6 separate regions of the Homo sapiens genome follow, and all the other regions are linked to region 1. Evidence: promoter capture Hi-C in human tissues and cell types (Jung and others, 2019). All regions are on one chromosome and are shown on one strand. Each heading gives the region's core, a stretch centred on a gene start or on the middle of the fragment in contact. The rest is flanking DNA. Distances are from core to core; before and after follow the strand shown.

Region 1 (2,528 bases), core at 1-2,500:
AGCCTCACGCTGGCTGCTCACAGGTGGTGGAGAAGATACCACTGCCCTTTTTTGCCATGTCCCTGAGCCTGTCCCCCGGGACCCACCTCCTGGCTGTTGGCTTTGCTGGTGAGTGCTGGTGGATGCAGTTTGGGCCTGTCTTAGGTGGGGGCCAAGTGGGCTGACTGGTGCCCTGTTCCAAGACAGGTGCCTCACCTGTGCCCCGGGCTCCTCGTCTCTGGGGTGGGGTGAGGACATCTGCCCTAGAGAGGGTCCTGGAGTCAGGAGATGATGAGGCAGGTGAGGAACCAGGCACAGCGCCCAGCACAGGGCCTGAATGCACGGGTGGCAGCGACTTTTAAGGAGGGAACTGGCCCAGCTGCAGGCCGACAGCCTGGCAGTGATGGACCCCCTAGTCCCAGTGGCACGTGGAGGGCACAGCCAGGAGCCCTTTTAGCACCAGCTCCCCCGACCAGCATCATGCCCAGTGGGGACAGTCTGGGTGGGTTGGGGGAGCCCTCTGAGTGCTGCCTGGTCCTGGCCCTGGCCCACCTGCACCGTCTACCCACAGAGTGCATGCTGAGGCTGGTAGACTGTGCCATGGGGACTGCCCAAGACTTTGCCGGCCACGACAACGCAGTGCACCTGTGCAGGTTTACACCGTCCGCCAGGCTGCTCTTCACGGCCGCCCGCAACGAGATCCTTGTGTGGGAGGTCCCCGGCCTCTGAGATGCAGCAGGGACTGTGGTGGTGGGCATCACGCCTGGTCATGCCAGGCACCTGGACACAGGCTTGGCAGAGGCGCCAGGTTGTCAATGGCCTCATGCTGGGACAGGCCAGGATTCACGTAAATCGCCTGGAGCAAGCTGTTGTAAATTTGGCGCCCTGTGAATACTTTCATACCTGTTGCCCTTTTGCCTAAGAAATCTTTAATGTTTCTATCTTGTAATAAACATGGGCATTTATTGCATTATTGCTGCATTGTTGCACTGGCTGTCTCTGGTCACTCCTGGCCTGAGCTCAGCCTCTGCCCGTCCCTTAATCGGCTGTTTGTCAAGGCCCCTGTGGTGCCGTGAAGCAATGGCCGCTCGGCCTGCCAGGGCGCCAGGACCCTGCGCTGTCCGCCGTGGCCGGCGCGTCCACACGGTGGCGCGCCGCACAGCCTGTCCGCTCTGGCCCGCCCGGCTCGCTGGTGCGGCTGTGCGGGCGGGGCCGGAAGTGTGGGGACAGCGCGGGGCCGAGAACCGGAAGTGCGGGGCGGGCGCGGGGGCAGAGCGAAAGGCTTGAGGACCAGGTCGGGGCCGGGTTCCGGGTCGGGGAGCGGCTCCGGGCGGCAGCTATGAGGCGGGACGTGCGCATCCTGTTACTGGGCGAGGGTAGGCGCCGGCCCGGGGGTCTCGGAGCTGCGGCGGCCGTGAGGCGGGGTGAGGGTCTCGGGGGTCGGGGGGCGCCGTGACCTTGGCCCTCGCGCTGACCGCCTCGCCCCGCGCAGCCCAGGTGGGGAAGACGTCGCTGATCCTGTCCCTGGTGGGCGAGGAGTTCCCCGAGGAGGTAAGGGGCACGCCCGCCGCGGGGGTGGGAGCGGGCCCAGCCGGGGGTCCCTGGTGAGCGCGCGGGTCCCTTGCAGGTCCCTCCCCGCGCGGAGGAGATCACCATCCCCGCGGACGTCACCCCGGAGAAGGTGCCCACCCACATCGTGGACTACTCAGGTAGCGGCCGTAGCCTCCCGGGGGCCCGGCCCGCAGCGGTCCGGCGGGCCTGCTGGGTCCGCAGTGGAGTCTCTTTGTCCCCCTAGAAGCCGAGCAGACGGACGAGGAGCTGCGGGAGGAGATCCACAAGGTACCCGTGGTGCGCGGGACGAGGGAGGGGCTGGGCGCGGGCTCGGCCTAATCCGCTTCGCAGCCTGGGGGATTGGACCGAGGTGCTCCGGGTGTCCTTGGCCCTGATAATTCTGTGACCTCCGCACTGAGGGTTGTCGGGGCCCCTACAGCGCACCCCGCTGGGAGCCGGCACCGCTCAGTCCAGTGGTGCTCCAGGGATAACAGGACCCTTCCCCGCGGGCTCTCCCTCCCTCCTGCCGGGGTGGCAGCAGCGTTTGCTCTTCCTGTGGGCTCTGTGTGCGCCACGTCCCCGTGCTGTGTGCTCCAGCCCACCGTCCCGGCCTCCGGGCACCCGGAGCTCCCAGTACCAGAGCACGTGTGCCGGGGACATCTCCAGGCAAGGGCACAGGCCACAGCCACCCAGGGCAGCCCCTGCTGTTGGCACCCCTCACTGCGGTCCTGTCACTCTGTCTGTAGCGAGGGGGGAGGCAGGGGCCAAGGCGGCGGCTGTCTTGCAGGGTGTTGGGTTGCAGGTGTGGCCGTGTCTGTCCTGAGCCCTCTGCTCCAAGGGTCTTGCTGACCACAGTTATGCTTCTGGGGCCTGGTGTCCCTGCACTGGCAGTGGGCGGGGAAGAGGCTTCTCTGAGGGTTCAGCAGCAGCTCCCAGTGTGACACTGGGGAGTGCCTGCTCTGCCAACACCAGGCTGGAGGCAGGTTTTAGGGAAGGCT
Region 2 (3,138 bases), core at 340-2,839, 940 kb after region 1:
CGCGCCAAGCCCGCCCCAGCCTCGATGGGACTCGCGAGGGGCCGCGGGGACTCGGCGGCGCCGGGATCGTGGGAGGAGACGGGAGGGTCCCGACGCCCGCCACCGGTCACATCCTCGGCCCCAAACCCCGGCCTGGCTCCTAAGGACCTGGGTCGGCCGCCCTAGCCCTAAGGCCACTCACCTCTGCCAGGCCGCTGAGCCGCCGCGCGTTGCCGGGACAACGGCGCGCCAGGAACGCGGAAATAGCCGAAGGTGAGCGAGGCGGCCCCGAGGACTCCCGAAGCGCCCCGAGCGGCCGGAAAGAGCCGAAGGCGATCGGGCACGCACGTGCAGCTCCGAGGCCCGAGCGTCGGGGGCCAGGTTATTCCGCTCTGCAAGAGAGAAGCGGGACGAGCTTTTTCTAGGAGAGACGGCGGCGCAGGGCCGGCGTCTGGGTCCCCTTTGTGTGGAGGGCGCGCTGTCACAGCCCCGATCAACCGCGGCATCCTCCCCTCCTGGGCGTGTTCCCTTCCCGTGCATCCCGAGGCGGAGCCTTTCCAGCACGCGGCGGTCTCGGCCCAGGCCTTCCCTGGGCTCCGCTTTTCTAGTTTCGGAGCGGAGGGCGTGGGTCAAGCGTTTCTGGGAAAGTCGATGCGCTCGGCAGTGTCCTGAGGTGTTGGGTGACTGAGGGCCTGTTCCATCGCCGGGCCCCGGACTCCACAGAGCCAAGCGAGGCAGGGAGCGCCCCCAAGAAAGCAGCTGGCGGCCGGACGCGGGGCTCGCGCTTGGGCTTCCAGCTCTTGGGGGCTGGGGCGGGCGGATCGTTGGAGCCCAGGAGTTCGAGACCAGCCTTGGCAACAAGGCGAGATCCTGTCTCTAAAAAATTACAAAAATTAGCCGGGCGCGGTGGCGCCTCTAGTCTCGGCTACAGGAGGCTGAGGGAGGAGAATCGCCTGAGCCCCGGGAGGCGGAGACTGCAGCGAGCCGAGATCGGGCCACTGCACTCCAGCCTGGGCGACAGAGCGAGTCAAAAAAAAAAAAAAAGAAAAGAAAAAGAAACACTGGAATTTGAGCCGGGCGCGGTGGCTCACGCCTGCAAACCCAGTACTTTGGGAGGCTGAGACGAGCGGATCACTTGAGGTCAGGAGTTCGAGACTAGCTTGGCCAACATGGTGAAACCCCGTATGTACTAAAAACACACAAATTAGCGAGTATGGTGGCGCGCGCCTGTAATTCCAACTACTCGGGAGGCTGAGGCAGGAGAATCGCTTGAACCTGGGAGGCGGAGCTTGCAGTGAGCCAAGATTGCGCCACTGCACTCCAGCCTGGGCGACAGAGCGAAACTCCGTCTCAAAAAAAAAAAAAAAGAAAGAAAGAAACACTGGAATTTGAAAAACACCCCTCTGCTTTCTTGCTATGAAGAAAATGACCAAGTGCCCAGCGCCGCTCGGCTACGCTAACGTAGCGCAGAAGCACATACTCCACCCAGGAAAGGGTGCGCTTAACTGCCTCAGACGTGCTTCCACACTTCTCAGAACTCAGGTTCGCGCCCGATTCCACACTCCGAGCTACCACGCCGTTTTCTTCTCACGTATCCGTCAACACTGCTGCGGCCAATCACAGCACGGGCCCTGGCCTATTGGCTGTCTGTCCACCAATCCAAAGAGACGCACAGTCCGCAAGGTCGCGAGGCTGGCGTCACAACACTACTGGCGCCGCGGGCTCGCCCCCGACGCCCACCGGGCTCGTACGTGCGAGCGCGCCCGCCCAGCGCTAGCCAATGGGAGCGCCGTTTTGGGGAGACGGGCCCGAAGAAACATTGGGGGTGCTCGCCCCCGCGTTCGTCGCCCCGCCCCGCGCGCCCGCGCACCCCGGCCCCGCCCCCGCGCGCCGTCCGTGAGGTCCCCACCGGCCGCCGTAGCCGGAACTGCTGCTGAGGGCGGCGGGCCGGCTTCGCTAGGGTGAGTGGCGGCAGTATCTGCGTCCGCAGCCCCCGCAGCCGCGCGCCGGCCCGCGGAGGGGACGTGCCGGGGCTAGCGCCGCTCGACCAGTCGCTTCCGAGGCGGACGACCAGCCCGGCGTTGCGGCCTCCCTGCAGCCGGCGCTCGGGGGCCGGGGCTGCCCGGCCCGGCTGGTTCTGCGGGCACCCGGGGAGGCCCCGGGAAGCCAGGCTGCCGCCCGGCGTTGATGAAAAAGGTGACCAAGGCTGGGCGGCGGGGCTGTCATGGCGAGGCCCGGCCGGGGGGTCCTGTCGGGCGGCGCGGGAGAGCGCGGGGGGGGCGTCGCTTCCACAGCGCCCGGTACAGCCACAACTGGCCTCAGGGCGAGGAGGCTTCTGCGTCCCCATCCCGAGACGCGAGCCGGTGCGGAGCGGGACGGGGCTGGAGGAGACTGCGCCTCCGAGAAAAGTCCGGTCTCGTTGGAGGTTCTCGCGAAAAGGAGGCCATCCCCCTGCTTGTTGGCCCTTAGGGTAAAGTCTGGACGGCGTCGGTCCTTTCAGTGGCGAAAAGCGCTTCCCCGTGCTCGGTCGGCGTCTTGGGTGTGGAGCCCGGCGAGCGGGCGAGTTCACTCTGGTGGCCGAGTTTGTTTTGCTTGGGTCCCGGGTGGCCTGCGGGCGGACAGGTCCCTGGGCAGCGGGGTTCTCAGCCCGAGACGAGGTCTTTGGGGGTTTAGGTTTCTTGAGTGGAAAGAGGTGGGTTGAGGGGGAAGAGTGGGAAGTCTTGCCACGAAATCCCTTAAGTTGGGGTGTTTGTCGTGGGTGGTTTTGTTCTTTGGCAGAGTTTTTTTTAAAACTAGCATGAACTCGAGATTCCCTAGACCAATTCCGACAGGAGAAAACGGCCACGGATCCTTGTGTGATCTGCACCTCAGGGTGGGGGCATCATTGCGACTTTGAAGCCATTTCCCGATCTCTCGGAAAGAGAGGTCCTCGCCCGCGTCCCTGTATTTCGTGGTTGGTGTTGGTGCCTCGATCGTGTGTTCCTTTGAAGTGGAAATGCCCCCGTTCTCAACAGTTGAGTTGAACGCAGGGTCAGTATCTGCTGAGGAATCTAATCTTCAGCGTTTTTGCTTCCTCACACGTGCCCGTCCCGGACTGTTTCTGGGCTGCAGCTCTTGCTGTGTACCTGATTGTCTGAGTTTATTTTTGAGTGGCTCTGC
Region 3 (3,138 bases), core at 283-2,782, 750 kb after region 1:
GAGTTGGTGGCTGCAGTGAGCCGTATCCTATCATTGCACTCCAGCCCCAGCGACAGAGCAAGACCCTGTCTCAAAAAAAAAAAAAAAAAAAAAAAAAAAAAAAAAAAAAAAGTGGGGCCGGGTACGGTGGCTCATGCCTGTCATCCCAGCACTTTGGGAGGCCGAGGTGGGTGGATCACCTGAGGTTGGGAGTTCGAGACAAGCCTAACCAACATGGAGAAACCCTGTCTCTACTAAAAATAAAAAATTAGCTGGGCATGGTGGCACATGCCTGTAATCCCAGCTACTCCGGAGGCTGAGGCAGGAGAATCACTTGAACCTGGGAGGTAGAGGCTGCAGTGAGCCGAGATCATGCCATTGCACTCCAGCCAGAGCAACAAGAGTGAAACTCCGTCTCAAAAAACAAACAAAAAAAAGTGGGAGGTGAAGCAAAATTGGTTTGAGTCACACAAGGGTTACCCCTAAAACACACATAATCCCTCGGGAACTGGCCTGAGAATAGGAAATGCCGCCCCAGCATCCCTGGTCACTAGAAAATTTCAGCGTATAATTACGACTCCCTCTGCAGGGGCCAGGTATGGACACTAAGGCGTCCGCTGAGGGTCCCGGCCGCATCCCCGGGTGGAGGCCCCCCACCTCCGCCCAGGCAGCGGCGCCCCCTCGCGGCCGCTTACTCGTCGCCGTCGGGGCACACGCCGGTGGCTTCGTTGTACTTGGAGCAGTACACGTCGGGGCTGTAGTTGAAGGTGCCGTCGCGCCTGCGGAGGGGCCTGCGGCGCCGCTGGTTGAGGAAGTGCCAGTGGAAGCAGGTGAACGGCCGGTGCTGCGCGCACTTGTGCTGTGAAAACAGGGGGCACTGCTCCGTCCTGAACTCCTTCAGGTACCTACAAACACAGACAGCGCCGCGGCTCGCTTCCGGCAGCACCTCCAGGGACTCGGACTCGTGGGCGGCGGGACCCACCGGCCTCAGGAGCCTCAACCCAGGGTCGACCCGTACTCACATTCCCGGCGGGCCCCAGGCGCTGCGCCCACCCCCATCCCGACTCCAGACGCGACCCTCACCCGACCTCGTAGCCCAGGCGCTGACCCTGGTCCCCAAGCCCAAGCGCCACCCCGGACCCTGGGCGACCCGCTGTGACCTCACGGTCGGCAGCCGGAGCAGAGGGTCCCGGTCCCCGAGCCCAGGCGCAACCCCCAACCCCGGGGCGTTCCTCCCTCCCCAGAGGCGCGTGGACCCCGGAACCAGGTGCCATCCCAGACCATGGGCGCCGCGCTCCGACCTCAGGCGGAGGCCGCCGAGAGCAGAGGGTCGTGGCCCCCCCAGCCCAGGCGCTGCGCGGAGGCCGGGGGGCGCGGGGGCGGCGGAGGCGGCGCGAGCCCCGGCGGGAGGCTCCGAGCTGCACCGGGCGCGGGCGGGGGGCCGCAGGCCGGACGGGCGCTGACCTGTAGTGGGTCGGCTTCTCAGTCTGCGGGGGGGACCCGCTCAGCGCCGCTGCCGCCGCTTTCGAAACCGACGGCATTTTCAGTCAAAACAATGCAGCGCGCATGCGCCGCGCCGGCGCCCCCGCCCCCGGATATCCCCGCGCGCCCCCGCGGCCACGCCCCCCGCGGCCCCGCCCCCAGCCCGCAGACCCCGGCCCCGCCCCAGCCCCGCGCCCCCCGCAGCCCCGCCCCCGGCCCGCAGACCCCGCCCCAGCCCCGCGCCCCGCCCTGCCCTGCCCTGCCCTGCCCTGCCCTGCCCTGCCCTGCCCTGCCCTGCAGCCCCCGGCCCGGGACGCTGGTCCTGCCCGGGGCCGCGCGTGGGACCCGCGATGGTCGCCCCTGCTGTGACATGACCCGACATAACCGTGTATTTTACATGAATTAATCACAAGAGTTGTATCTCAATAGAGCTGCTCTTCCACAAACGAACCAAGAGGCTGATGTCAGGGGGAGCCAGGCACCGGGCGGAAGGGCCAAGGGGTCCTGGCCTTTGTAGAAAGGAATTTGTTCCATTTCGAACCTTGACCTCAAAAACTTATACTCAGAGATTTATCTACAAAGGTAATTATCACAGTTATTTTGCAAACACTTGAGGTCCCCCTTCCCCCAACAGCGCAGTAGCTGAGAAAAGGGAAAACTCTAAGTGCTCTGCGTGATTTGAAACAGTGCTTCCGAAGAATTTTTAGTGGTAGGAGGCCGGGCGCGGTGTCTCACGCCTGTAATCCCAGCACTTTGGGAGGCCGAGGCCGGCGGATCAGCTGAGTTCGGGAGTTTGACAACAGCTTGGCCAACAGTGAAACCCCGTCTCTACTAAACATACAAAAATATTAGTGGGGTGTGGTGGCTTGCGCCTGTAATTCCTGCTACTCCGGAGGCTGAGGCAGGAGAATGGCGTGAACCCGGGAGGCGGAGGTTTAGTAGTGAGCCGAGATTGCGCCACTGCACTCCAGCCTGGGTGACAGAGTAACACCCTGTCTCAAAAAATAAAAAAGAAATTTTTAGTGATATGAAAAATGTGCCCATTGGCCGGGCGCGGTGGCTCACGCCTATAATCCCTGCACTTTGAGAGGCCGAGGTGGGCGGATCACGAGGTCAGAAGATCGAGACCATCCTGGCTAACACGGTGAAACCCCGTCTCTACTAAAAATACAAAAAAAAAAAAAAAAATTACCCGGGCGTGGTGGTGGGCACCTGTAGTCCCAGCTACTCAGGAGGCTAAGGCAGGAGAATCACTTGAACCCAGGAGGCGGAGCTTGCAGTGAGCCGAGATCGCGCCACTGCACTCCAGCCTGGGCAACAGAGCGAGACTCCGTCTCAAAAAAAAAAAAAAAAAAAAAAAAAAAAAACGAAAAGAAAAATGGGCCCATTTAGGTTGAAAGCAAATCACTTCCTACAGATTTGTTCCAAGTATCTCAGGGTTTTTTTTAATATTAATACTGTAAAACAACAAAAACTATCATTTGCTGGTAGGATAAATTTCTTCATAGGTTCACATTTTCTTTTTCTTTTGGCGGGGGGCGGGGGGAGGAAGGAGTTTTGCTCTTGTTGCCCAGAGTGGAGTGCAATGGCACGATCTCGGCTCACTGTTGCAACCTCCGCCTCCTAGGTTCAAGGAATTCTCCTACCTCAGCCTCCTGAGTAGCTGCGATTACAGGC
Region 4 (3,138 bases), core at 462-2,961, 670 kb after region 1:
ACCATGGCAACCGGCCTGTGTTTGTTCCAACAGGTGGGCAGAACCTGGTGCAAGACCGCAGAGGCAGGGGCGTCACTCCCAGACCCGGTCTCCAGACCCACCAGCCCCTCAGGAGAACACTGCTACAGAGTGGGGCTGAGGGCCCAGGCCCCCTCCCCTGCTTCCCCCACCGCGTCCCTGTCCCAGCCAGTCCCTGCATTTCCTGCAAGCTCCCTGCCCTCCCCCACCGGCCTGGCTGTGCTGGGTCAGGATCCGGCAGAGCCTGGGCCGAGCGTCCCGAAGGAGAGCCCACCCAGGGGTCCTGCCCCCGATCCTGCACAGACAGGTGTGGGGCGGGCATGGATTTGAGTGAGTTGGGATCCAGAAGCCAAGACAGTTGTTGGCAGACGGGCCCCCTCCCTTTGAAGAGCTGTGTTCTGGAAGCCTGTCTGGCCTTGGGCTGCCCAGGTGCCCTTCGGGTGAAAACTCCAAAGTCTGACCACCCCCCACCCCTTGTCCCCAAAGGGCTGCGAGTGTCCAGCTGTATTCGACCAAGGGCAGGTGCGACCGGGGGGCCGCTGCGCCCTCGGCAAGTCTGAGAGCCTCAGGCCCCCGACAGGACCATGCTTAGCACGGACTTCTCAAAGTGTGGTCCCTGGACTGGCGGCAGCAGACTGGAGCTGGGAAGTGCAGGCGCTGGCTGGCGTGGGGACCACACCTGTGATCTCAGCGCCTTAGGAGGCCGGGGAAGGGGGATCCCTTGAGCCTGGGAGTTTGAGACCAGCCTGGGCAACATAGGGAGACCCCCATCTCCACAAAAGAAACCAAAAAACATTAGCCGGCGGGTGGTCCCAGCTACTGGGGAGGCTGAAGCGGGAGGACCACTTGAGCCGGAGAGTTCGAGGTTGCAGCGAGTGGAGATGGTGCCACTGCGCTCCAACCTGGTTGAGAGCTATTTTTGAGAGCTTTTTCGAGACTCTGTCTGAAAAAAAAAGGGAAAAAACGCAGATCGCGCCCCCACCCAGACTTCGGGACCAGCGGGTTGGGGACAGGACCCATCAATGCCTTAACAAACCCTGCAGGAGACCGCGGGCCCGCTGGGGTTCCAGGACAGCGCAGCGGAGGAAGAGCGGGGAGCCACCCGGGAGGGGCTGGCGGGGTCCAGTGCAGACCCCAGGGGCTCCGGGGGCTCTGGCCGGCTGTGACCCCACAAGCGCCAACTGGGCCCTCACCAGAGCCCCAGGGACGATCGCCCCACAGACCGTCCGCGTGGGCGTGGGGCGTCCCGAGTGGATCCCTGCAGGACGCATCCCCGCCCCGAGAAGAGAGCGGCGGGGCCCGCGAGGTGTCCCTGAGTCAGGCCCTTCCAGAAAGGTCTGCACCGCTGCTGGTCTTCGTGACCGTGGCTTCCCTGGGGTCCGCGGAGGAGACCCCGCCGACCACCCCCTTCTAGACCCCACGCGCCACGGGGAGGGCGCGCGCGGCCAGGCGGGGTCCCGAGGCAGCCAAGCCCGCTCCCCGTCCCGCAGCCACCTGTGGGTTGACTCACAGCCCCGCATCCCGGGGGAGGGGGCTCCGGCCCGGCTCAAGGCACGGAGACCCCGGCCGGGTCCCCTAAGGCGCCGTGGACGCGGGGGGCGGGGCGAGCGCGGTCAGGCCCCGCCCCGGTCAGGCCCGGCCCCGCCCCCAGTCAGACCCCGCCCCCGCAGCGGCGTCCGCCCAGCAGTTGCTCAGTCGTCGGCGCGCGCGGCTGGGAGCGGTAGCTGTGCCTCGGCGTCCCCGAGCTGGTGCCGAGCGCAGCGCCCCAGGAGCCCCCCCATCCCCGCGCCGGCCCACGGTAAGTGCCGCGGGCTGCGGCCAGTGCTGTTGGGCCGCCGTCTGGGCTCGGCCCCGCGCCCCAACCCGGACGGACCGACGGCCGCCGCCCCCTTGGTCCGGGTCCCCCAGGAGGCACGGGGGTGGCCTCCGAGGCGGGGGGCGGTGGGAAGGTCTCGACGTCCCCTCGGCCCTGGGGAAACTGAGGCCGCGCATGCTTGGAGGGGCGGGGTCTCGGGGGCATTTCCCCTCCGAACGCGCAGGAGAGGGTGCGGCGGTGGGGTCCGCACTGCGGAGCGGACGGGGAGGGTATCCGGGCGCTGGCGACGGCCTCCCCCGCACTTGAGCCGCCAAGCGAGGCTTCGACCCCCGCGCCTCCCTCCCCGGGGGAGCAGACGGGCCCGGGGCCTCCCAGCACCCCTCCCGGGCGGGCTGCACCCCCCAGCGTCCTCGTCCCTTCCCTCCTCCCGCAGGTCCTCGTAAGGCCCTTTAGTCCCCCCGAAATCCCTGCGAGTGCAAAGCGGCCCCTCCTTCAGCCCCACTCGGCAAAGGGCTGTGGGCTCTTGCCTGGGCCGGGGTCTCCGGGGGAGGAGTTTAAAGTGACACACTAGACCCGCCCCCAGACTCACCCCGGACCGCCCGCCCCCTCCGAGGGGAGAGACCCCCATAGAACTGGGGGTGTGGCTCCTGCGGGCGCCCGGGGCCCCGGGAAAGGGGGTGCCGCGAGGCGGGGCAGGGAGGGGGTCGGTGAGCAGAGGGAGGAGGGAGCGCTGCGCAGACACGGGCGAGGGGAGGAAGAAGGCGCCTCGGGCTCCGGTCTCCTGCGCTCCTGCTGGGCGCCAGCGGCTGGACCTTGGCAGCCGTCTGAGGCTTCGGGGAGCCCAAGGCCACCGGCAGCGCTTGTTAGAATGCAGATTCCCGGGGTTCGACTGGAATGAGACCCCGGGGAGCAGCGTTTGCAGCGGGCCCGCCAGGTGACCTGCACCTGGGCACCGCCATCGGCTTCGCAGGGGCCATCTGGAGGAGTCGGTGAGACCAGGGAGAGATTCCTGCGGGAAACCCCCAGGGCCTGGTGAAGGGGAGTCGGGGGGCTGAGGGAGGAAGAGCAGGGAAGCTGGAGAGAAGACCAAGAGGGCAGCGTGGAGAGCCAGCCTGTGGGGCAGATGTCCTGCCACCTCCCGCCCCAGGCACACACCCAGGGCACCATCAGCTAACCCCCTGCCCCAAATGTGGTAAGAAGGGCGCCCCCAACACGTTGAAGGCGTTTGTTCCTAGACAGCCTGCACTGGGGAGGAAGGCTGACCCAGCCTCTGCTCCGCTGCCCCCAGACTCAGCTGCCTCACT
Region 5 (3,138 bases), core at 278-2,777, 590 kb after region 1:
TCATGAGCAGGAGCGGTCTGGGCCACCCCTGCCTGTCCCCCGGGGGGTGCAGCCCGGAAGGAGTCCAGATGGATATGGCCCCGCAGTGCAGAGTCAGCCTCAAACCAGGCTGGTCCCAGGCAGGGTGGGGGCAGGAGGAGCCCCGGAGTGGCCCTGTGTTGGGGGTCGGGGGGCAGGCAGGGGGTCCTGGGGCTCAGAAGCAGAGGAGGTGGGCTGGAGGCCCCAGTGACCAACAGGCCCAGGTGAGTCAGGAGGTGGGGTGGACGGAGCTGCAGGGACAGTGTCAGCGCTGAATGGGATGGAGAGCACAGGGAGCTGGGGCCGGGGGTGAGACCAAGGGGAGCTGGGCTGGGGCTGGGGGTGAGTCCATGGGGAGCTGGGGCCGGGGGCTGGGACTAGTCCATGGGGAGCTGGGCTGGGGCTGGGGGTGAGACCATGGGGAGCTGGGCTGGGGCTGGGACTAGTCCATGGGGAGCTGGGCTGGGGCTGGGACTAGTTCATGGGGAGCTGGGCTGGGGCTGGGGGTGAGTCCATGGGGAGCTGGGCTGGGGCTGGGGGTGAGTCCATGGGGAGCTGGACTGGGGCTGTGGGTGAGTCCATGGGGAGCTGGGGCTGGGGCTGGGACTACTCCATGGGGAGCTGGGGCTGGGGCTGGGACTAGTCCATGGGGAGCTGGGCTGGGGCTGTGGGTGAGTCCATGGGGAGCTGGGCTGGGGCTGGGGGTGAGTCCATGGGGAGCTGGGCTGGGTCTCCTGGGGTTGCACCTGCACTCCTGTCTGCCCTTCCCTCTGCGGATGAAGCTCAGATCCCATGATAAGAAGGCACCTGCAGACCAGGGGACCTGCACGGACAGCCCCAGAGGTGGACATTGAGGAATCGTTGGAGGACTTGGGTCTCATACGGGAGGTGGGGAGCAGGGCCCCTTCCTGGCTGAGGACACTTGGTGCTGTCCCCTCTCAAGGCTGTTTCCCCATCTGACAAAGGGGTCTCATGTGAGCCCCCAACCAAGTGAGTCGAGGAGGGCTGGCCCCACCCCCGTGGATTCGGAGTCCGTAGGAGGGGTGTCACCCGTCATGTCCCCACCCCGTGGGCACCTTCCCGTCTCTTGGAGGGTGGCCCATGGACATGAGTTCCTCACCCCGTGTCCCTCTTGGGGAAACAGGTTTCAGGAGCGACGGGTCTTGTAGCCTGGGGCAGCCAGGCCACCTGGGTGCAGCTATGCCTGAAGGCCTCCTGGCACCGAGACAGGGGCAGGAGCAGATCCCACCAGCGGGAAGGTGGTGGGTTCCAGTGCTGGGATCCACCAGCTGACAGGTGGAGCTGCGAGCCTCCAGTGCTCAGCCCTCGGCGGGGCCTGCCTGGCAGCCCCACACACAGAGGGCATCGGGGTGGCGGGGGCATGTGTTACACGGGGGCCCTGGGTCTGAGTCATCCACTTCCTCCGAGTCTGGATGGGAGGACCCAGCGCCCCTCCTCCGCCCCCTCCTGATCTGGAAGCATAAATGGGGAGGGGAGAGCCCGCTGGGTAGAAGGAACAGGGAGTGGCCAGGGTAAGTCCCTACTCTCAGAGACCCTGACATCAGCGTCACCTGGAGCAGAGTGGCCCAGCCTCAGACTCAGAGCACCAAGACCCAGGCCCGCAGGCCTGGACCCACCCCGGTCCCCCCGTCCCAGCTCCATTCTTCACCCCACAATCTGTAGCCCCCAGCCCTGCCCTGTGAGGCCCGGCCAGGCCCACGATGCTCCTCCTTGCTCCCCAGATGCTGAGCCTGCTGCTGCTGGCGCTGCCCGTCCTGGCGAGCCCGGCCTACGTGGCCCCTGGTGAGTCCCAGCCGGGGTCCACCCTGCCCCTCACCACATTCCACAGATCAGGGCCTGGGTGGGTTCTGGGGAGGCCGGGCTGGCCCCCACACAGGGAAGGGCTGGTCCCAGGCGTGGGGCGGCTTCTTGGTCCTGACCTGGCACCTGCCCCAGCCCCAGGCCAGGCCCTGCAGCAAACGGGCATTGTTGGGGGGCAGGAGGCCCCCAGGAGCAAGTGGCCCTGGCAGGTGAGCCTGAGAGTCCGCGGCCCATACTGGATGCACTTCTGCGGGGGCTCCCTCATCCACCCCCAGTGGGTGCTAACCGCGGCGCACTGCGTGGAACCGTGAGTCTCCTGGGGCCTGGAGGGGTGGGCAAGGGCTGGATGTGAGCCCTGGCTCCCGGGTGCTCCTGGGGGCTGCCCAGGGCCCTGAGTGGGATCCTCCGCTGCCCAGGGACATCAAGGATCTGGCCGCCCTCAGGGTGCAACTGCGGGAGCAGCACCTCTACTACCAGGACCAGCTGCTGCCGGTCAGCAGGATCATCGTGCACCCACAGTTCTACATCATCCAGACCGGGGCGGACATCGCCCTGCTGGAGCTGGAGGAGCCCGTGAACATCTCCAGCCACATCCACACGGTCACGCTGCCCCCTGCCTCGGAGACCTTCCCCCCGGGGATGCCGTGCTGGGTCACTGGCTGGGGCGACGTGGACAATAATGGTGGGTGTTGGGGACAGCGGGAGGCCGGGCCAGGTGGGCACCAAGTCACAGCCACAGGCCAGTCCGTGGGGTGACAGGGTCCCTCAGGGCGGCTCAGGGAGGGGGACTGTGGAGGCCAGGATGGATGGAGCAGGCGGTGGCGAGAGGCAGCAGGTGCCCTGAGCAGAGACGGTGAGTCCAAAGGGCCTGGGCGTCCCCCACCCCAGGGGTTTGGAGAGTCCCTTAGCACCTCCGTGCCTCGGTTTCCCCTTGCCTGAAAGGGTGCATCAAAAGTTTGTACGTCACGGACTTGCTATGTGGAGAGAGAAATCACACGGGGGTCTTGCTGGAAGGAGAGAGACCGGTGCTGGGATGAGACCTGCCTGCCCTCCATCCCTGTGCTACAGACAAGGCAGGGGCCTGGGAATCGGGGTCGTGGCAGTGCTGTGGGGGGCTGGACGAAGCTCACTGTGGCCCTCCACGAGGCACATTTTCACTTCTAGAAGGTCTTGTCCCCATTTTATCCACAATTCAGAGCAAAGCTTTGGGGTACAGCCTGAGCGGCAACCCTGGGCTGTGACCTCTGGGTCACTCAGAAGGGGCCTGAGCCACTGTCCCGCTATTCCGCCCCACACAGC
Region 6 (3,138 bases), core at 255-2,754, 530 kb before region 1:
GAGATCACGCCACTCAACTCCAGCCTGGGCGACAGAGTGAGACTCCGTCTCAAAAAATAAATAAAATAAAAACAAAAACTGAACATTCATGATGATGAAAAATCAAAAGTAACCTACATGCCGTCCACAGGGGAAGGCAGCAGCCTGCAGCCAAGGGTGAGGTTGATCCCTGCTTGCAAAGGCAGACGGAGCTCCAAGGCCGACTATGGGAAAAGGGCGCCACAGAACAATTCGTGCGATGAAAAACCTCACGCGACGTTCCCTTTTCCTGTGGATAGATCTGCATCTATGCACAGGGCAGACAACTCCCAACACGGCCAGGGGTGATCCCTGTGCTTGCTAGAACTGGGGGTGGCAAAGACAACTTCAGATGTTCACGTAACTTTTTTTTTTTTTTTTGAGACGGAGTCTTGCTCTGTTGCCCAGGCTGGAATCCAGTGGCGCGATCTCGGTTCACTGAAACCTCCGCCTCCCGGGTTCAAGCAATTCTCCTGCCTCAGCCTCCCAAGTAGCTAGGATTATGGGCACGCACCACCACGCTCGGCTAATTTGTTTTTTTTTATTTTTATTTTTTCAGTAGAGACAGAGTTTCAACCATGTTGGCCAGGCTGGTCTCGAACTCCTGACCTCAGGTGATCCACCCGCCTCGGCCTCCCAAAGTGCTGGGATTACCGCCACCGGCCTTGTTCGTGTAATTTTGTATTTTCTCATGATGAATACATCCCAAACTCATTTTATTTTATTTTACTTTATTTTTTAAAGGCTGGAGACTGATGAAATGTCAGCAGTAGTTGCTTTGGTGTGGTGAACAATGCATGATTTTAATTTTTTTTTTCCTTTTTCTACTTTTCAAATACTCTACAACGAGCAGATCTCGAATGCCCAGCAAAAGCTAAGCTCCGCGAGGCGGCCCTGGAATGAGGCGACCCCGGAATGAGGCGGCCCCCGCGAGCGCCAGGCCCCCGCCCAGCGCTCACTTACTTGTCTGGGACGCCGGGTGCTCCTGGCTTCTCTGGAAGGGGTACCTGAACAGCAGCTTATTGCCCCTGCTCCCCGAGCTCACCAGAATCACGCTGATGGGGCTGGTGTTGTCCCGCATCCCGCCGTGGGGCCGGGGCCGGGGGCGGAGGGGGCCAGAGGAGGACGGAGCCGGAGGCGGAGGGGGCCTGAGGAGGACGGAGCCGGAGGCGGAGGGGGCCTGAGGAGGACGAGGCGGGGACGCAGGGGGCCTGAGGAGGGCAGGGGTGGAGGCGGAGGGGGCCTGAGGAGGGCAGGGGTGGAGGCGGAGGGGGCCTGAGGAGGGCAGGGGTGGAGGCGGAGGGGGCCTGAGGAGGGCAGGGGTGGAGGCGGAGGGGGCCTGAGTAGGGCAGGGGTGGAGGCGGAGGGGGCCTGAGGAGGGCAGGGGTGGAGGCGGAGGGGGCCTGAGGAGGACAGGGGTGGTGGTGGACGCGGAGCAGCGCCACAGTTACCAACCCACGTGCCACGCTCCGGGCTCGCGAGACTTCGGCGACACCGTCCGGAGGAGGTGCTAAGGCGGCGGCCGGGAGAACGGCGCAGGCGCAGGCGCAGGCGCAGGCAGCGGAATGCGCAGGCGCGGGGCCTTCTGGAAGCCACCGAGTTCCGCGGTGCTGTCTGGAGCCGTACGGTTCGCGTTTGGGGCACAGGGGCCCCTCTTGCTGGTGCGGATGGGAAAGGCGCGGGGTCGAGTCAGCGTCCCTCTCGATGTTGGTTTCTTCGTTTTACAAATAACACTTGGGCGGGGCGCGGTGGCTCACGCCTGTAATCCCAGCATTTTGGGAGGCCGAGGCGGGCGGATCACGAGGTCAGGAGATCGAGACCATCCTAGCTAACATAGTGAAACCCCATCTCTACTAAAAATTAGAAGAAATTATCCGGGCGTGGTGGCAGGCGCCCGTAATCCTAGAGGAGAATCGCTTGAACCCGGGAGGCGGAGGTTGCATTGAGCCAAGATCACGCCATTGCACTCCACCCTGGGCGACAGAGCGACGAGACCCCGTATCAAAAAAAAAAAAAAGAAAGAAAGAAAGAAAAAAGAAAAAAAAAAGGCCGGGCGCGGTGGCTCACGCCTGTAATCCCAGCACTTTGGGAGGCCGAGGCGGGTGAATCACGAGGTCAGGAGTTCGAGACCATCCTGGCCAACATGGTGAAACCCCGTCTCTACAAAAAAAAAAAAAAAAATTAGCCGGGCGTGGTGGCGGGCGCCTGTAATCCCAGCTACTCGGGAGGCTGAGACAGGAAAATCGCTTGAACCCGGGAGGCGGAGCTTGCGGTGAGCCGAGATTGCGCCACTGCACTACAGCCTAGGCGACAGAGCGAGACTCCGTCTCAAAAAAAAAAAAAAAAAAAAAAAACACTTGGAAGCCGACAGGAGATCTTTGAGACCTTGGGCGAGGCAGTGACACTAAAGGCAGGAGCGACTACAGAAGAATAAATTAAACTTCATCAGATTAAAAACTTTACTGCGGCCGGGCGCGGTGGCTCACGCCTGAAATCCCAGCACTTTGGGAGGCCGAGGTGGGCAGATCATGAGATCAGGAGATCTAGACCATCCTGGCCAACATGGTAAAACCCCGTCTCTCTACTAAAAATACAAAAATTAGCTGGGTTTGGCGGCGCCTGCTTCTAATCCCAGCTACTCGGGAGGCTGAGGCAGGAGAATCGCTTGAAGCCGGGAGGCGGAGGTTGCAGTGAGCCGAGATCGTGCCACTGAACTCTGGCCTGGCGACAGAGCGAGACTCCATCTCAAAACAAAACAAAAACTTCGGTGCTTTAAAGGACACCATCAAGAAAATTAAAAGTCCACCCACAGAACGGGAGAAAATATTTGTAAGTTACATATCTGATAAGGGAATTGTATCTAGAATGGAGGAAACTTACAACTCAACAATAAAAAGACAATTGAAAAATGCACAAAGGATATGAATATTTTTCCAGTGCATTATGCAAATGGCCAATAAGCACCAGAAGATGCTCAGCTCAACTGGTAGAGGCTTACGCCTGTGACCCCAGCGCTGAGAGGCCAGGAACTCCAGACCAGCCTGGGCAAAACAGAAATTAAAAATGCTCAACATTATTAGGCATTAGGGAGATGCAAATCAAAACTACAAATAGATGCCA

What was found. The method cuts DNA at HindIII sites, captures the fragments that hold promoters and counts their contacts. A contact is called where the count stands out against the background at its distance.
Region 2: the fragment with the promoter of IFT140 here is called in contact with the fragment with the promoter of RHOT2 in region 1 in 1 of the 25 tissues and cell types used here (dorsolateral prefrontal cortex).
Region 3: a contact is called between the fragment with the promoter of UNKL here and the fragment with the promoter of RHOT2 in region 1, in 1 of the 25 tissues and cell types used here (dorsolateral prefrontal cortex).
Region 4: the fragment with the promoter of BAIAP3 here is called in contact with the fragment with the promoter of RHOT2 in region 1 in 2 of the 25 tissues and cell types used here (dorsolateral prefrontal cortex and lymphoblastoid cells).
Region 5: the fragment with the promoter of TPSD1 here is called in contact with the fragment with the promoter of RHOT2 in region 1 in 5 of the 25 tissues and cell types used here (H1 embryonic stem cells, dorsolateral prefrontal cortex, liver and 2 more).
Region 6: the fragment with the promoter of NPRL3 here is called in contact with the fragment with the promoter of RHOT2 in region 1 in 1 of the 25 tissues and cell types used here (lymphoblastoid cells).

The regions. Positions count from the first base shown.
Region 1 is chr16:666,882-669,409 of GRCh38, forward strand. It overlaps RHOT2 (ras homolog family member T2), which reads left to right and starts at 1,251. Exons shown (of 19, transcript NM_138769.3): 1 at 1,251-1,355; 2 at 1,472-1,530; 3 at 1,607-1,688; 4 at 1,775-1,818. The coding sequence starts at 1,319. It overlaps WDR90 (WD repeat domain 90), which reads left to right. Exons shown (of 41, transcript NM_145294.5): 40 at 24-108; 41 at 551-949. The coding sequence ends at 708. RefSeq lists an enhancer at 962-1,643 and silencers at 1,029-1,368, 1,429-1,528, 1,629-1,718. The HindIII fragment of the contact is 52,780 bases long and covers 1-2,528 here.
Region 2 is chr16:1,610,483-1,613,620 of GRCh38, forward strand. It overlaps IFT140 (intraflagellar transport 140), which reads right to left and starts at 1,590. Exons shown (of 31, transcript NM_014714.4): 1 at 1,486-1,590; 2 at 182-371. It overlaps CRAMP1 (cramped chromatin regulator 1), which reads left to right and starts at 1,878. Exons shown (of 21, transcript NM_020825.4): 1 at 1,878-2,175. RefSeq lists silencers at 1-296, 1,535-2,064, 2,085-2,204, 2,235-2,394 and enhancers at 1,325-1,384, 1,773-2,273, 2,274-2,774. The HindIII fragment of the contact is 16,182 bases long and covers 1-3,138 here.
Region 3 is chr16:1,413,172-1,416,309 of GRCh38, forward strand. It overlaps UNKL (unk like zinc finger), which reads right to left and starts at 1,533. Exons shown (of 15, transcript NM_001372107.1): 1 at 1,444-1,533; 2 at 675-884. The coding sequence starts at 1,520. RefSeq lists enhancers at 434-1,008, 1,009-1,583, 1,584-2,158, 2,159-2,732 and silencers at 528-677, 1,108-1,157, 1,698-1,817, 1,868-1,937. The HindIII fragment of the contact is 21,408 bases long and covers 1-3,138 here.
Region 4 is chr16:1,331,934-1,335,071 of GRCh38, forward strand. BAIAP3 (BAI1 associated protein 3) reads left to right here and starts at 1,712. Exons shown (of 34, transcript NM_001199097.2): 1 at 1,712-1,816. RefSeq lists silencers at 666-866, 1,602-1,761. The HindIII fragment of the contact is 17,320 bases long and covers 1-3,071 here.
Region 5 is chr16:1,254,542-1,257,679 of GRCh38, forward strand. It overlaps TPSD1 (tryptase delta 1), which reads left to right and starts at 1,528. Exons shown (of 5, transcript NM_012217.3): 1 at 1,528-1,821; 2 at 1,975-2,146; 3 at 2,256-2,521. The coding sequence starts at 1,740. The HindIII fragment of the contact is 12,300 bases long and covers 1-3,138 here.
Region 6 is chr16:137,169-140,306 of GRCh38, forward strand. NPRL3 (NPR3 like, GATOR1 complex subunit) reads right to left here and starts at 1,505. Exons shown (of 14, transcript NM_001077350.3): 1 at 1,474-1,505; 2 at 982-1,166. The coding sequence starts at 1,099. RefSeq lists a silencer at 935-1,164 and an enhancer at 1,385-1,434. The HindIII fragment of the contact is 17,392 bases long and covers 1-3,138 here.